Linked DNA regions of Homo sapiens: regions 1, 2 and 4 are each linked to region 3. The links are contacts of gene promoters, found by promoter capture Hi-C in human tissues and cell types (Jung and others, 2019). All regions are on one chromosome and are shown on one strand. The core of a region is centred on a gene start or on the middle of the fragment in contact, and the rest is flanking DNA. Distances in the headings are between cores, read along the strand shown.

Region 1 (2,700 bases), core at 98-2,597, 1.3 Mb before region 3:
TGAGGCAGGTATCTTTGCGCTCCCAGCATTTCCAGTCCTGCTCTTGAGCATATAAGCCAGCCTGCTGTCCTGGGAAAGGGGTGGGTATAACTTAGCAGGATCTGTTTGATTCTTGACTCTCAGAATCTCCCCCCAGAGAAACATGAGAACATGTGTACCTGAAAACCAGGGCAGAACAAGGATTTCCTTGCGGCACTGCTTGTGATACGGAATAAACGTCATCCTCGTAAAAGTTAATACTTAGGGAACCCACTACCTGCCAGGCACTCTTCTAAGCTCTTTGCCTATTTTAACTCAATCATCACATCAACATATAAGGCAGGAAGGGAAAAACTCCATCCACACTGCTCCTTCTCAAGACTGAGAATTTACAAAGACAGGCCTCTCTGCCCTCCACCTGCCAAGCTAACTAGGGGTTTCCTCTTCATCCGAGTCTCCCTGGGCTGAGTTGCTTCACAGAAATAGGTTTAGGGGAGTGCAGTCCAGGTTGTGAAGGGTCCCCCGGATGTGTTGGATCTAGGGTTGTGGGAATGGGGCCATACGGAGTCCCAGATGGGGCACCAGAACTTCAAGAAGGGCAGGGCTGAGTGCCCCAGGGTGTCCAGAGTCCCAGGCCAGGTGGGGAACTAAGCGGGGGAGGATGAGACCGGTGAGGGGGCGGGGCTGCCCCCCCAGGGCCTGGTTAGTTACAAGGCCTGGAGGTGGGGCCAGTCCCAGGATTGGGCCGCCAGAGTTCTAGCGGGCGGGGCCAAGCGCTCAGAAGGCGGGTCGAGGGGCTGGGTGCACCCTAGGATTGGGCAGTCGGAACGATGGGAGGCGGGGCCACGAGCCAGGCGCGTCCCGGCCAGGCAGTACGAGACCCAGGCCGCCGGCCCGGCTCCTGGGCGGGGTCCGCAGGTGCCGGGGGCTGGCCCTAGAAGCGGAGGGGGCGGGGTAAAGCCCGGCGGGGTCTGGGGGCGTCTCCTCCCTCCCTCCCTCGGGGCCAGGCCCCCTCACCCGTGGCGGCCGCTCCGCTGGCCGCGCTCCAGAGAGATGAGGTAGGCGGCGAGCTTGGCGTCGCTCCAGCCGCTGCGGCGCCGCAGGTCCACCCAGGGCCCGTGCGCCTCGCCCAGGTACACGCGCCGCACGTCGTACTTCTTCCGGGACTCGAGCCGTCGCCGGGCCCGGTCCGACTCCGTGAGTCGCGGCCGGCCCCGCGCCTTTCGGCCCGCTGCGCCCTCCTCGGCTGCTGCCTCCCCGCCCGCGCCCGCCTCAGCCTCCGCCTCCGCCTCGGGCTCTAGCGCCCGCTCCGCCATCCCCCCCACCCTGGTTACCAGCCTCCCCCGTTGTTAGGAGCCAGACCGGAAGTGGCGCGCATCTTCGGCGCCGCCGAGAAATTTCTCACGGTCTCTCGCTGCCCCAGGGCGCCAAAAGGAGACCAAGAATGGAAACTGCGCATGCGCACAACCAACAGCGCTCCCGCCCCTTTTTATTTGAATTCGGAGAACCAGAGGCGCCTGCAGATTCTGGAGGGGTCTCGCCTGCCCATCGCTGGCAGCCCGAGATCCTGGGGAGGGGATGCCATACTGCTAGAGATGAGGGAAGAGAGCCCCAAGCAGGAAAACATTGATTTGCTGTACACTCAAAGGGCATCTCATGCCTTCAGTCCACCGCCTCCTCGGGCCACAGCCCGTGCCCTCGCGCCGGCTCAGACTAGCTCTGGCCCTGCTGCTGTCGCTGCAGGTTGTCGTCTTCTTCCTGGTGGTCCTCGGGCAGGGGCGGCTCCTCCAGCCCTGCAGAGGATGTCTGGAGCTCCCGGGTGGACCCGGCGAGGCGGAAGACCACGGGGATCTGGGCCAGGGTTGGGTTGGTCTCCTGCAGGCCCTGGATCCACTTAGCCATCGTCGCCTGGTCATGAGCACCCGCCATGCACATGGCGAAGACAGGGCCTTCCTCCACTGTTGGAAGACATGCACCCTTAAGGTTTGCACAGTGGGGGCTGCAGCGGCTAACCCATGCCTACACCTTTTTGAGGTATTTTACACTCCCTTCCACTTCCTTTTTTTTTTTTTTTTTTTTTTTGAGACGGAGTCTCGCTGTGTCACCCAGGCTGGAGTGCAGTGGCGAGATCTCGGCTCACTGCAACATCCGCCTCCCAGGTTCAAGTGATTCTCCTGCCTCGGCCTCCCGAGGAGCTGGGATTACAGGTGCACAGCACCACGCCGGGCTAATTTTTAAATTTTTAGTAGAGATGGGGTTTCACCATGTTGGCCAGGCTGGTCTCGAATTCCTGACCTCAAATGATCTACCCGCCTCAGCCTCCCAGAGTGCTGGGATTACAGGCGTGAGCCACTGTGCCCGGCTTCCTTCCACTTTCTTGTGCCTCCAAACCTTTGCACAAGCTAGCCCCGCTGCCTAGGCTGCCCACTCCACACTTCACCCGGGCGATGACTCCTGGTTTTTCTGTATTCTGCCAGGAAGGCCTCCTGACCCCCCACTCAAGGCATGCTCCTCTCCTAAGCTCCCCAAAGTGTAATTTGCCTGTTCCCTTGCTGACTCGAGGGACTAGGTTTGTCCTGGTGACACCCAGTAGCCAGCACAGAGTTGTAGGAGGGAGGGAATGAACAAGGGCCAACAGGGCTGGGTGACCTCAGGTCTGGAGCCCCTGGGGCAAATGAGTGTGTGCGGCCGGAGGACGAGGGTGTAAGTGGACTGCGTCTC
Region 2 (2,700 bases), core at 56-2,555, 1.0 Mb before region 3:
TTGTTTGTTTTTAAATAGAGATGGGGGTTTCACCACATTGCCCAGGCCGGTCTTGAGCTCCTGAGCTCAAGCAATCCACCCACCTCAGCCTCCCAAAGTGGTGGGATTGCAGGCATGAGCCACGGTGCCTGGCCTCATAATGCTTTTATATCTGGTATTCTTCATAAAAATATGAAGATGAATGTTTTCAAATTCAAAGTCTAATGTCTCAGCCTTTGATTGAAGCATTTAATTCAATAACATTTATAGGCTTGATGGAAGGAGCATTTCCACGCTGTGTTTAGGAGACAGGAGGGCAAATTGAACTCCCAGAGTTAAATCCATTAGTGCCCCTGACTCATCCCCAGGTTCTGATCCACCCTAGGGCTCCATTTCAGGAATTATCGTCTGGCCTCCAAGCTTTGGAATATGTTTGGCCTCCTGAAAGTGGTTGACTTGTGAACTGTGTGTGGATGCAGCAGGCTGCTTATCTGAGCTAGTTCAAGTTTTTGCTTTATAAAATATTGCCGCCATATAATTCCAGTTTTTCCACACATTTAACAATTTTATTTATTTCTTTTTTCTTTTTTCTTTTTTTTTTTTTTTGAGACGGAGTCTCCCTCTGTCTCGCCCACTCTCTCACTGCAGCCTCTGCCTTCCAGGTTCAAGTGATTCCTCTGTCTCAGCCTCCTGAGTAGCTGGGACTACAGGCGTGCGCCACCACATCCGGCTAATCTTTGTATTTTAGAGACGGGATTTCACCATGTTGGCCAGACTGGTCTCGAATTTCTGACCTCAGGTGATCCACCTGCCTCAGCCTCCCAAAGTGCTGGGATTACAGGTGTGAGCCACCACGCCCGGCTTTGTTGGGGTGTTTTTATATTCTGCACTGAAAATTAGTAGATTGAGACATAAGGTGGGAGAAAGGCTTGGCCTGTGCAGCCAACAGCCTCATCCAAAACTCCTGATTCCTGGAGGACATCAGCCCCTCCCTTCTGCTGCAGTGTGGCCTGGGCTCCCTTCCTGCTCTCAAATCAGGGGATAGCTCCACTGGACAGTGAGTCTGGAATTTCCTGCACAGACTTGTGGGTCCCTGTCCAAGAGGAAAAAGGAGGAAGGTCAGGACATACTGCCTAAATGCAAATGTCCCCTGGGAGGGGGTCAGGTCACAGCGCAGGGAGGAAGCTAGTCCTCTCAAGGCCTGTCTGGAATCTGTTTATCAGGTTCCACTCCGCTGCCCGAGATCGCTTCTTCCGTTACTCAGTGCCCGGGGGAGGGACCTGGCGCACTATCCAATCAGGGCCGCGGGGCGGGGTCGTGAGAACTGTCAATCAGGCGCACTGACCGGAGGAGGGTGCAAGGTTCAAAGAGCCCGCCGAGTCTTCTCCACGCCCCTGCACTGGGCTCCGGGTTCTGTCACTGAGAGACGCCCTGGAACGTCTGTGGCAGCTTCTGTCTCGCTGGGACCCGCACTGACAGCGGGAGGCAGAGGGAGGAACCTGGACGCCGGAAGCCGGGAAATGGTGAGTGTGTGAGGTCTGGTGTCCCGACGCGTGAGAGGAGAGACTGGTTGGAACCGGCCGGAACCGGCTGTGGTGGCACCAGGTCTTCCCCGCCGGCGACACCCTGGCGCAGCTCGGCCCTCGGTTCCCTCGGCCGCACGATGGGGCTGGGGCGGCAGCCGGGACCCCGGGCGTCCTGTCCCGTCCCTGCGCGGCCACTGCGGCCCTGGCCCTGGAGGCCTGTCTGGGCAGCTCCGCGCCCGCAGTCCTGCGTCTCCCCAGATTGTGCGGCTGTAACCGGCACAGGTTCGCGGCCCGAGTCACTGCACCGAGACGCCGAGGGCTGCAGCAGAAACAGTTTAATAGGGGGAGAGGGGAGGACACCCCAGATCCGCCTTCCTGAGAGGTTTGGGGATGGGGTGTTTAGGGGTGTGGACAGGGGCGGCTGGGGCGTGGGGTCGCTGGATGGTGGGGAAGTGAGGGGTGACTCTTGGGACTGGAGGTGAAGAAACCGCATTCTTCTGCTGAGTGGGTTCCCTTGTGGGGTCTTCAGCCTGGTTGGCGCCAGCCTTTCCGCTGGAATTCAGGATCTGAGAAAGAACTCAGGCGACTCTTGAGCAACTCTCAGAGATCTCATCCCCAAGCACAATGGCGAAGCCGGCGGTCAGCATCTGCTGTGGCCTGACTCTTGGGGAGGCGGCCCCGCGAGGCAGCGGGGCTGAGGGCACCTGGTTAATATCTAACTGCAATCTCGCCTCCAGCCTGGCTCGCAGTTCTGTGAACCCGGTGAGGAGGCTGCACGGTGATGACAGGTCACCAGGCAGACTCGTGTGTGGGGTTTGTGTGTGGGAGGAGTTGTGGTCTGTGTGGTCCCCTGTCCCTTCTTTCTTCCCAAGGGTGACCCGTTCGCCTTCGAGTCTTCCAAAGATGTGGGCAGCAGGGTCTCAAGTCCACCACTGTGTTCTCTCATCCTAACTCCTCCTAGGGCCGACAGAAAATCCCTTGGCTTCCAGAGCCTTCCTCAGGCTTTCTCTCCTCAATTCACAGCAACTTTATGAACTCCTTGTCCCCCAGTTTATTTTTCAAACAGAGGCTAGTATTTTAATTGTCATTTTGTTTATACATAGCAATATATGGCTCTTTGTAAAAGGTTTTGTGTTTGTGAACATTTCACATGAGAGGAAGCAGAGAAAAACCACCAGACATTTCGCTGTAAAAA
Region 3 (2,700 bases), core at 41-2,540:
GAATAGAAGTGGTGGATGCCAGGCACTGTGGCTGGCTCAGGCTTGTAATCCCAACACTTTGGGAGGCTGAGGCGACCGGATCGCTTGAGCCCAGGAGTTTGAAGCCAGCCTGGGCAACATAATGAGACCCCGTCTCTACAAAAAATACCAAAAATAGTCGGGCATGGTGGTGTGGTGTGCACCTGTAGTCCAGCTGCTTGGGAGACTGAGGTGGGAGGATCGCGTCAGCCCAGGAGGTGGAGGTTGCAGTGAGCCAAGATCGCGCCACTGCACTCCAGCCTGGACAACAGAGAGAGACCCTGTCTAAAAAAAAAAGAAGGCCGGGTGCGGTGGCTCACGCCTGCAATCCCAACACTTTGGGAGGCCGAGGCGGGCGGATCACAAGGTCAGGAAATCGAGACCAACCTGGCTAACACGGTGAAACCCCATCTCTACTAAAAAGTACAAAAAATTAGCCGGGTGTGGTGGCGGGCGCCTGTAGTCCCAGCTATTCGGGAGACTGAGGCAGGAGAATGGCGTGAACCCGGGACGCGGAGCTTGCAGTGAGCGGAGATGGCGCCATTGCACTCCAGCCTGGGCGACAAGAGCGAGACTCTGTCTCAAAAAAAAAAAAAAGAAAAAAAAAAAGTGGGTCGAGGGGTGGGGGTGGGGACATTCATTCTAAGTTGGGAGGAATGAGCTTCTATAGGGAGCAGAGACCCTGAGCAGGAGTCCACCGAGGTCTGTGATCTCCAACGGGGGTGGGGAAGGCTTGGCCTGAATGAGACAGAGGTTAGGAAGCACAGATCTTGCACGGAGTGGAGGTGGGCCGAAGGGAGCAACCAAGAGAGGGAGTTTGGGGACTCCAAATCCAAAAGCCTGGGTTTAGTGGAAGCGGGGCTACCTGGTCCAGGGGACTTAGAATGTGTACAGAAGCAGGGACCGCAAGTACAGGGCCTGAATCCAAGTGGCAGTTGGGGACCCAGTGATGCGGTGACCCGTGTCCTGGGAGTGGGGTGATATTTGACTCTCTAGTTCCCCGTTAGGCTGGGTCTTCGAAGCTACGTCTCAGTTTCCCTCTTATTTCCCCCTCTTCCCACCGGGCCACGCAGGCGGGGCCCCAGAGACCGTGAAGCAGAGCTTGCAAAGTGACCCCGTCCACCGAATTCCCCAAGCTGAGTGTTCGGCCATAGCCCTTCGGGACTACAATTCCCAGGAGGGCGCACGGCAGCGACGTCGGCGTCGGCTGCGTAAGCGTCCACGGCGGCGGGAGCGCCAGGGGCGTGTTCTGCCCGCGGATTGGCCGGAAGCAGGCGCCGCTTCGAGGCCCGCGGAAAACGCGCGCCGAGACCCGCTCCTGCAGTATTAGTTCTTGCAGCTGGTGGTGGCGGCTGAGGCGGCATGGATCTCAGCGAGCTGGAGAGAGACAATACAGGCCGCTGTCGCCTGAGTTCGCCTGTGCCCGCGGTGTGCCGCAAGGAGCCTTGCGTCCTGGGCGTCGATGAGGCGGGCAGGGGCCCCGTGCTGGGTGCGCCCCTAGGGCCAGGGAGGGGAGGGGCGTGGTACGGAGGATGCGGGAAACGGGAGTCGGGATTGCACTGCACCAAGGGAGGGGATGTGGTCGTGGTGATGGCACCTAAAGAAGCAGTGATGATAGAACAGGGATGAATGGCAACTTTCACGGGCTCAGTGATTGGACCCCGGCTGCCAGAAAACTGACACCCCTTCTCCCCAGGCCCCATGGTCTACGCCATCTGTTATTGTCCCCTGCCTCGCCTGGCAGATCTGGAGGCGCTGAAAGTGGCAGGTGAGCCCGAGGTGTGCGTCTGGGGAAGGGATTCCTGGGTATGTGCAGGGGCAGGTGAGAACTGAAAGGGGAGGGCAGGAACTGGGAGAACCAGCTGTTCCCCTTCTCTTCCAAACCTCCTCCCAGACTCAAAGACCCTATTGGAGAGCGAGCGGGAAAGGCTGTTTGCGAAAATGGAGGACACGGACTTTGTCGGCTGGGCGCTGGATGTGCTGTCTCCAAACCTCATCTCTACCAGCATGCTTGGGCGGTGAGGGGTCCCCGGGAGGGGCAGCCAGCATGGGCTGACCAAGCTTTGTTCCTAGAATGAGATTAACTGGGCTCTGTTCCCCACCACAGGGTCAAATACAACCTGAACTCCCTGTCACATGATACAGCCACTGGGCTTATACAGTATGCATTGGACCAGGGCGTGAACGTCACCCAGGTGAGTTAACTGTAAGTTGTCCCCATTTGGTCATCTCAGGATAAAATGGGGACAAAACAGGAGTTCGAGACTGCAGTGAGCCATGATCATGCCACAGCACTCCATCCTGGGTGACAAAGGAAGCCCCCCAACTCAAAAATGGAGGCAGGGCGCAGTGGCTCACGCCTATAATCGCAGCACTTTGGGAAGCCGCGGCGGGTAGATCACCGGAGGTCAAGAGTTCGAGACCAGCCTGACCAACATGGTGAAACCCCGTCTCTACTAAAAATACAAAAATTAGCTGGACGTGGTGGCAGGCGCCTGTAATCCTAGCTACTCAGGAGGCTGAGACAGGAGAATCGCTTGAACCCAGGAGGCAGAAGTTGCAGTGAGCCAAGATTGTGCCATTGCACTCCAACCCGGGCAACAGAGCAAGACCCTGTCTCAAAAAAATAAAAAATAAAAAATAAACTAAAAATGGGAGACCAGGCGCAGTGGCTCACGGCTG
Region 4 (2,700 bases), core at 73-2,572, 1.0 Mb before region 3:
TATCTGATACAACTATCACAACTCTTGCTGAAGCACAGTGGCGAGATCATAGGTCACTGAAGCTTCAAACTCCTGGGCTCAAGATCTTCCCACCTCAGCCTCCCGAGTAGCTGGGACTACAGGTTCAGGACACCACGCACTGCTAATTTTTAAATTTTTAGTACAGACGAGGTGTGGCTCCGTTTTCCAGGATGATGAACTCCTGGGTTCAAGCAGTCCTCCCGCTTCAGCCTCCAAAAGGGTTGGGATTATAGGCGTGAGCCCCCGCACCCTGCCTGCAAGTCTTTTAATTCACTTCAATTATCTTAGAATTTTCCTTCCCCACTTTATACATACGTACAGTGGAACTGAGGGTGTTTGTCTCAGGTAACCGATCAATGAAGTGAATAACCTGTAGGGGGCAGCAGAGCCTAAGGCCAGTGACACCCTGCTGAGGCCAGTCTGGAGCCGGCAAAGGGAGGGAAAGGGAGCTCCCCTGGGTGTTTCCCGGGCAGCCTGCCCTCTACTGCAGGTGGCCTCCAGCTGCTCAGAACAGCTGCGGAAGGAATGTGGATCCTGAGAAGCTACAGAGCCCTGGAAAGCAGGAGACTCACGTGCAGGTGCACTTTGTGTAGGGGGGTTGGGGGGAGGTTCTGTCCTTACTGGGGCTGTACCTAGAGCCTAGGGACGTTTTGCGGGGGCAGTGTTTGGTTTTTACGTGCAAAGGGTCCCGGCGACAGACTGTAATTTGTACATACAAAGATAATCTGTGAAGATCAGGCTCAGTAAGATTTGTCTGACATGTCACCTGGAGAAAGGGTTTGTGAAGGTAATAGTTTACTTAGGTTAGAAGCTTAAACTGACCCCAGGTGAGAACTTCTGCTGGTGAAAATGAAGTCTAGGGGGAGGAAGCGGTTCCATATTCAGGGGTGGGACGGGGGGAGTGTGAGGAAGTCTCATCCCCAATTCCCGCCCTGTAGAGGACACCTGCCTCTCCCTCCTGGTGCAGTCTTGCCTGGCCTGGCCTGGCCTGGATTTCCTTCCTGCTATGAGGCAAAGGAATGACTCCATTGAACACCGAGTCTGGAATTCCCAGCACACATTTCTGAAAGATCGAGGAAGCTAACAGTGCCCCTTCTAACAATAAGTAGCAAGTTTGGCTGAAATGCAGATAGCCAACGACCAGGGCGCAGGGAGTGAGCTTAGCCTTAGAAAGGCTGTAGCTAGGATTAATCAGCCGGGCTCTGCAGGGCTCCGTTACCCAGGGCTTACCCTGTCACTCAGGGCTGAGGGGCGGAGCCTGGAACCCCATCCAATCAGGGGCCCTGGGACGGGGCCCTGCCAACTGTCAATCCGGGGAAGCAGAAGGCCGCACTCAGAGTCTCTGCACTCCTTTGTTGCTGGGGTCCGTTGCGTTCTGCATCCAGTCCTTGCTGCTCCGAGAGGCCCCAGGTGCCTCCGCCACGGCTCCTGTGACGCTGTCACCTGCGCTGTGACCTGCTCCGGAGTCATAAAGAGGACGCCGGGACACCAAGAAGCAGGGAAATGGTAAAGTGCCCGGCCTAGCGTCCAGATACGTGGAAGAGGGGCTGGGTGGAACCAACAGGATCCTGCTGTGGCGGGACCCAGGCCTCCGCTCGGGCGACCCCGGCGATTGGGACCCGCGTCCCCCATGGCGTGGCTTGGCCCTCGGTCCGCTCGGCCGCCAGGTGGGGCTGGGCCCGCAGCTGGGACCCCGGGCGTCCTGTCCCGTCCCTACGCGGCGACTGCGGCCCCGGCCCCGGAGTCCTCTCTGGGCAGCTCCGCGCCCGCAGCCCGGCGTCTTCCCAGATTGTGCGGGGGCCACGGGAGGGTCATGGGGGGTCGGATGTGTCCCGCCTTTCTTCTGCTAAAAATTAAACTGAGGCTCTGTTAACAGTTAAAGAGTTTGTTGGAGCAACAGCGATTCCGAGTGAGAAACACCCGGTCATGGCTTGTGATTGAAGAAAAGGCTTTTATAAGTTGCATGAGGAGGCAAACAGGATTAAATACTTGATTAGTTACAGTGATGCTGTCGCCGTATGTGGACTTGTCAACCTGAAATAAAAGAATCAGATTCCAGTTTTTTAAAGTTTACTCAAGCAAGAAGCTGGGAATGGCCCATTTGGGAAAACACAGGATCCACGGAAATGGGCTCAGTGTTTCAAATTTAAAAGTTTAAGTTCTTGCTTATATAGGCAAGAAATTTAACAGGATTACAACGTTTTTTATACAAGGCTAGTTTGTGAGGCACAACAATTTAATCAGAGTTTGGCCCGCCCCCCTCCCCCCGCCCCCATAGAGCTTTTTTTTTTTTTTCTTTACATTTGGGTTTCATTTCCTTTCCAATTTAAAAGAGTATATTTAACATTCCAGCGTAAGGCAAGGTGATGCCAGCGTGGACAACATGGCGAGACCCCGTCTGTACAAAATATTTTAAAAAATTAGTCGGGTATGGCCGGGCGCGGTGGCTCACGTCTACAATCCCAGCACTTTGGGAGGCCGAGGCGGGCGGATGACGAGGTCAGGAATTCGAGACCATCCTGGCCAACATGGTGAAACCCCGACTCTACCAAAAATACAAAAATTAGCTGGGCGTGGTGGCACGTGCCTGTAATCCGGCTACTCGGGAGGCTGAGGCAAGACAATCGCTTGAACGCAGGAGGCGGAGGTTGCGTGAGCCGAGATGGTGCCACTGCACTC

Evidence for each region. The method cuts DNA at HindIII sites, captures the fragments that hold promoters and counts their contacts. A contact is called where the count stands out against the background at its distance.
Region 1: the fragment with the promoter of ZNF653 here is called in contact with the fragment with the promoter of RNASEH2A in region 3 in 1 of the 25 tissues and cell types used here (dorsolateral prefrontal cortex).
Region 2: a contact is called between the fragment with the promoter of ZNF441 here and the fragment with the promoter of RNASEH2A in region 3, in 1 of the 25 tissues and cell types used here (small bowel).
Region 4: the fragment with the promoter of ZNF491 here is called in contact with the fragment with the promoter of RNASEH2A in region 3 in 1 of the 25 tissues and cell types used here (lymphoblastoid cells).

The regions. Positions count from the first base shown.
Region 1 is chr19:11,504,492-11,507,191 of GRCh38, forward strand. It overlaps ZNF653 (zinc finger protein 653), which reads right to left and starts at 1,348. Exons shown (of 9, transcript NM_138783.4): 1 at 997-1,348. The coding sequence starts at 1,295. ECSIT (ECSIT signaling integrator) reads right to left here. Exons shown (of 8, transcript NM_016581.5): 8 at 1,438-1,937. The coding sequence ends at 1,693. RefSeq lists an enhancer at 444-513 and silencers at 664-1,333, 1,494-1,543. The HindIII fragment of the contact is 10,042 bases long and covers 1-2,700 here.
Region 2 is chr19:11,765,695-11,768,394 of GRCh38, forward strand. ZNF441 (zinc finger protein 441) reads left to right here and starts at 1,306. Exons shown (of 4, transcript NM_152355.3): 1 at 1,306-1,502. The coding sequence starts at 1,500. RefSeq lists an enhancer at 1,467-1,566 and silencers at 1,637-1,776, 2,227-2,336. The HindIII fragment of the contact is 15,674 bases long and covers 1-2,700 here.
Region 3 is chr19:12,805,294-12,807,993 of GRCh38, forward strand. It overlaps RNASEH2A (ribonuclease H2 subunit A), which reads left to right and starts at 1,291. Exons shown (of 8, transcript NM_006397.3): 1 at 1,291-1,507; 2 at 1,715-1,786; 3 at 1,913-2,036; 4 at 2,126-2,213. The coding sequence starts at 1,381. RefSeq lists a cis regulatory region at 538-1,570 and enhancers at 1,015-1,144, 1,345-1,394. The HindIII fragment of the contact is 8,217 bases long and covers 1-2,700 here.
Region 4 is chr19:11,797,201-11,799,900 of GRCh38, forward strand. ZNF491 (zinc finger protein 491) reads left to right here and starts at 1,323. Exons shown (of 3, transcript NM_152356.4): 1 at 1,323-1,527. RefSeq lists a silencer at 315-484 and enhancers at 578-1,089, 1,315-1,414, 1,425-1,584. The HindIII fragment of the contact is 4,685 bases long and covers 1-2,700 here.